Regions from separate parts of the Homo sapiens genome. Here region 2 is linked to region 1. Evidence: promoter capture Hi-C in 16 types of primary human blood cells and fetal thymus (Javierre and others, 2016). All regions are on one chromosome and are shown on one strand. The core of a region is centred on a gene start or on the middle of the fragment in contact, and the rest is flanking DNA. Distances in the headings are between cores, read along the strand shown.

Region 1 (2,700 bases), core at 173-2,672:
CACACCTGTAGCCCCAGCACTTTGGGAGGCTGAAGCAGGTGGATCACCTGAAGTCAGGCCTTCAAAACCAGTCTGGCCAACATGGCGAAACCCCATCTCTACTACAAATACAAAAAAAAAAAAATTAGCTGGGCATGGTGGCACACACCTGTCATCCCAACTACTCGGGAGGCTGAGGTGGGAGATATGCTTGAACCTGGGAGGCGTGGTTGCAGTGAGCTGAGATTGGGCCACTGCACACCAGCCTTGGGCGACAGAGCAAGACTCCATATCAAAAAAAAAAAAAAAAAAAAAAAGCAGGCTGTCCACTTAGATTAAAAAAAAAACCCAGAGATATGCTGTTTACAACAGTATATAAAATATGAGCATACAGAAAAGTTAAAACTTAAGAATATGAAAAACGTTTGAAGCAAGTATCAAAACACAGCGGCCGTGGCTAAATTAATGCCAGAGAAAAGAAAAGTCTTCTCTCTTCATCTCTACCTCCACTAACTTTCTCTAACAGTTTGGCAATTTGTTAACCCCGTCTTCCTGCCAGGACTGCTTCTCTGAGGATAAGGCTGTCACACCATCATTTGGATCCACCCACAACTTAGAACAGTCCCCATTTGGTAGTAAACACCAAGTAAAAATAGTTACTTTAGGCCGGGCGCGGTGGCTCACGCCTGTAATCCCAGCAGTTTGGGAGGCCGAGGCGGGTGGATCATCTGAGATCAGGAGTTCGAGAGCAGCCTGGCCAACATGGAGAAACCCTGTCTCTACTAAAAATACAAAAATTAGCCGAGCGTGGTGGCACGCGCCTGTAATCCCAGCTACTCGGGAGGCTGAGGCAGCAGAATCGCTTGAACCCAGGAGGCGGAGGTTGCAGTAAGCCGAGATCAGAGATCCGCGCCACTGCAGTCCAGCCTGGGCGACAGAGCAAGACTGTCTCAAAAGAACAAACAGTTACTTTAAGTGCTCTCCACCTATTTAACGTTATTTCTCTGTCATCACCAATGTTAACTGATTCGGAAGGACGAGGCTGTTCCTCTAAGGTGACACCTTGTAAAAGTCGTTGGTCGCCTGTACCATTTTCACCTCTTCCAAAGTGACATGCCAATTCTCTGAGAGAAGCTTAAAATGCTAGAGATCACGTGCGGCTACTCCTAAATAAGGCCTTCCAGGAGGCGCAGGGTGGCCCCAACCCAGCCGGCTGGACCGCCTCCCAGCGCACGGAGCAGGCAACGCCCGGCTCTGGCAATCTGGGAAGATTCCAGGAAAGGAAGAAAAGGCCAAGAGCACTGCAGGGTGACGCACCGGCCAGGAATGCTCGTTCCGAAAGCTCCCCGAACCTCTGAAGCTCACCTGCCCGCGGAGACTCCAGGTGTTCCCAGCAGCAGCCCCTCCAGCCAACTGCCCAGCAGCGAAGCTTGAGGCTCTGGCCGGAAGTGCTGTAGGAAGTCCCGCCTCCACCGGAGTGAGGTACGGCTGCTGGAGCATAGACGAGAATGTCAGCGACAGTATTGGAGGCCAGAGGAGTGGTCAGCCCACCCAAGCCCCGCCTCTGGGCGGGGGCCCAAGCGATTTCCGAGTGCTGAAACCTGGGATGACAGAGCAGCCCAGGGAAAGCGCGTGTTCCAGTTTACTAGATACCACAGAAGTGAGTTACAAATCCTGTAAGAGGTTCAGTTCCATGCGTATTGAGAGTCTACCACGTAGGCAGCATGCGGTGGTCAAAGAGAAGAATATAGTGTTGATACCGCCAAAACTAAAAAAAAAAAAAAAATTACCTAGTTAAAGCATAAGGCAGAATGAAAGTAAATGCAGTGATAGAAAAAATAATAGAAAAAGCAACTATCCTAGACATGTTAATTTCTGTTGAAACCGCCTTTGCAAAATTTTGACAGTAAGAGAAATCTGACATGGTTTACTCCTATCTTGATTCTAGCCTCACAGACTGGCTGTCTTTGCTCATTCCTGGGCACAGGACAAACTAACTTTGGGAGAAATTTAGTTTATAGTTTAAATGATAATAACCCTTCCCCAAAACTGCCCTTTTAAAACTAAATGAAAGGCCACCAAGTTAGGAGAATGAGAGGGTCCTGAATTCTTCTAAGTTGTAATTGTAGTTAAATGATTACCACCCATTATTCCACAGGTCACAAATTCGCATCTTCCCCAATCATTCCTGCAGATAACATCACTGTTGTAGAACCTAAGATTGGCCTTTTGAGATGTCTTTTCAGGTTTTTGCATTTCTGACAAGTGGATGGCCCCACCCTGACTCATCAACCTGGGGATCCACGAACCAACTCAGTGCAAGAGGACAGCTTCTACTTCTTATGATTTCACCTCTGACCCAACCAGTCAGCACTCCCCATTCCCTGGCCCCGTACCTGTCAAACTATCTGAAAAACCCCCTAACCTCTGAGCCTTTGGTGAGATGGATTTGAGTAACAACTCTGTCTCCCACGTGGCATGGCCAGCCTCGCGTCAATTAAACTTTCTTTACTGCAATGCCATGGTTTCTGTCAATTAATTTTGTTTGTGCAGCAGGCAGAAAGAACCCATTGGTGGATACCACAGACTCCACAACAAGAGCAGTTTGGGTAGAGTGAGTGTTAGCATTCCAAAACCAGACTGAAGTGAGGTGAAGTGGAAAGGAAATTGAGGGAGCAAAGCCAAATGACTCTTCCAAGAAGTGACCTTCTAATTGTCATA
Region 2 (2,700 bases), core at 185-2,684, 110 kb after region 1:
CTGCCTCCTTTCCTTTTGGTGGAACGTCCTGGGATGTTAGTACTTTTTATAAAGCACTTTGGAAAAAGCTTACTTCCATGATTTTCCTTTGGCTATGGAATTACTATAAGCAGAAGAACTCCTTAGAAATAAAAATGTAGAAATGTACCTGAATGTAAAACGTAAGAGCAGCTATTAAAAACTAAATCACAACTGAGGAAACATAAATATTAGTTAAGGTAGAAGAGTAAATATCCAGCGAATCCCTCCTATTAAAGCATTTAAGATATTTTGGCTTCAAAGTTTTGAGACTTTCCAGATGACTTTCTTCATATAGTTTTCACTAGTAGTTTAAATATACTAACTTTTCTCCCTTGTATGCTATACTACATTCTTTTTTGTTTGCTTTTTTGAGACAGGGTCTTACTCTGTGGCCCAGGCTAGAGTTCAGTGGCACGATCACTTTTCACTCGAGTCTCGACCTCTTGGGCTCAAGCACTCCTCCCACTTCAGTCTCCCAAGTAGCTAGGAGTACAGGCGCATGGCACCATAGCCAGCCAGTTTTTATTTTTTTATTTTGTAGAGTTGAGTTTTCCCTATGTTGCTTGGGGTGGTCTCAAACTCCTGGGCTCAAGTGATCCTCCAGCCTTGGCCTTCCAAAGTTCTGGGATTATAGGCAGGAACCACCACACCAGGCACTACACTAAACTACCTTAGACTTTTCTAGATAGAGATATAACAGAGCTATTCTGAATCTGGGTGACTGCCAAGATACAGCCTAAATATTAGAAGATTTCCCCCCCACCCCAGAATTTGAGCTTTAAAGATCTGCCTTCTGGCCAACGGACCCTTTTCTTGTAAGTGGTCATAGAATAAATAAATATTTGAATGAATGAGTGACTAGAGGGGTATACTTGTGAGTGAGCTAATTCATATCATGGACCATATGTATTTAATGGAAATAAGATACCTTTATATTTTATGTGATGTACATTTAAATAGTCTTTATGATAAACATTTTACTTGTTTTTTAATTTATAGTATTTTATAGATTGGTCTTGTTAACATACATTTCATATTTATAACTGTTGTAGCTTAACAAGATTAGGCTCACTATTCTGAGGTCTGATTATGGGAAAGAATTAGAGAGTTTAAATCTAATTATATTTCTTTGCATTTTTAGGCCCTTGATGAGCCTCCCTATTTGACAGTGGGCACTGATGTGAGTGCTAAATACAGAGGAGCCTTTTGTGAAGCCAAGATCAAGACAGCAAAAAGACTTGTCAAAGTCAAGGTACAGTATTTATAGATTTCATAAATTGTATGTTCAGCATTTGATATGTAAACTTTTATTTGGTGAGTGTATTTAAGATTTTTCTGCAAAATAAGTTTCTAGGAGTGAAGGTTGTAAAAATACCTCAAAACAAAGCATTTTTTGTTATTTTAAAAGTATTATAATTGGAAAGAAATTAGATTATCACAGTTGGTATTTTGAATGCCATTTCACTATAGACGTCTTATTGTTTGTATAGTGTTTTAGAGCTGGAAAGGAAGTTAGAAGTCATCTAGTTTAATTGCTTCATTTTATTACAAGAAAAATGAGGCTCGGAGAGGGTTAGTGATTTCTCCAAGGCCATTATGCCAAATTCATGGCAGAATTGGAACTACCATAGTTCATCAATTTTAAGGCATCACCCCCTCTATTTCAGCCATAAAATTAGAATGTGACTTGTAATTGATGGTGCCTTAGATAACAGTGAAATAAGGTACATCTAGTTGTTGACTCCTTATGCTCTGCCTTTCTTGAAACATCTTTCTAAAGTACTTGAGTTTTGTCTTAATATAGAAAAAGGAGTGTAATTGCTTCCATTTTAATAAATTATCAGCACTGAAAAATACCAGACAAGTGAACTTGAATATAGACATTTATTCATTTGTCAATAATTTATTGAGTGACAAACCTTTTGCAGGGAACTTTTAGGTGGGAAGGAGGATGGGGATATTAGGATGAGATTGACCTGATCTGTCCTCAAGGAATTTATAATCTAGATTAGCAGATACCTTTTAAGCCATTGGTTTTTATTTCACCAATTACATAGACTGTAGAGGTGTTGTGCTTCTGTGGAGGGTATCAGTCTCTTCTGGAGCTTTTACTGTTCCTATATTCCTTATGCATGGATGTGTTGAAAAAGCTACCTGGGTGATTCTAATTTACACTCCTGGTTAGGAACCATTGTGATAAGTCCTTTAAATTAACTACAAACTGGTAGGGGGCTAGTCTTGGCCCCACCCTACCTTCAGTTTCCACATGCTTGGTGGTTGGTGCTTTTATAGTGTGCATTTCCTGTTCTGGCTTCACACACTGGTATTCCCCAAGCACTGTTTTTTGCCAGTACTATCCTGTAGAGGAAGAGAAAGCCTTTTATCAATGTTTGTACTTTTTCAGGACTACTGGTAGCACATGTATCACCTTTGTGTGAAGTAGACAAAAGCCCTCTCTCCTGGTGGAAAGCCTTCTTAGCAGCGCTTGGCATGCAGATAGCAAGTTTGTGCCAGTTGGAAAAGACATTCTCTTTGGACTGGAGCTGTGTCACTCCAGGACCCATGCTTTGGCCCACAAAGCAAAGGCTGGATTTAAGCCCCATCTTGCATCCTTAGCTGCACATTTCCTGTGTAATGAATGAACTAGGAAAATGACATGTAGCAGTCCTGCCATTTCTT

Evidence for each region. The method cuts DNA at HindIII sites, captures the fragments that hold promoters and counts their contacts. A CHiCAGO score of 5 or more calls a contact.
Region 2: a fragment that was not itself captured here is called in contact with the fragment with the promoter of TBCE in region 1 in 2 of 17 cell types (non-activated CD4 T cells and total CD8 T cells); the score reaches 5.8 in non-activated CD4 T cells.

What each region holds. Positions count from the first base shown.
Region 1 is chr1:235,366,149-235,368,848 of GRCh38, reverse strand. It overlaps TBCE (tubulin folding cofactor E), which reads right to left and starts at 1,422. Exons shown (of 17, transcript NM_003193.5): 1 at 1,345-1,422. LOC124904559 (a long non-coding RNA gene) reads left to right here and starts at 1,429. Exons shown (of 2, transcript XR_007066957.1): 1 at 1,429-1,639; 2 at 2,226-2,496. RefSeq lists enhancers at 1,123-1,462, 1,002-1,715. The HindIII fragment of the contact is 3,498 bases long and covers 1,411-2,700 here.
Region 2 is chr1:235,259,215-235,261,914 of GRCh38, reverse strand. ARID4B (AT-rich interaction domain 4B) reads left to right here. Exons shown (of 24, transcript NM_016374.6): 3 at 1,163-1,273. Among named protein-coding and RNA genes, the nearest start is that of ARID4B, 68 kb to the left of the region's middle. The HindIII fragment of the contact is 2,727 bases long and covers 71-2,700 here.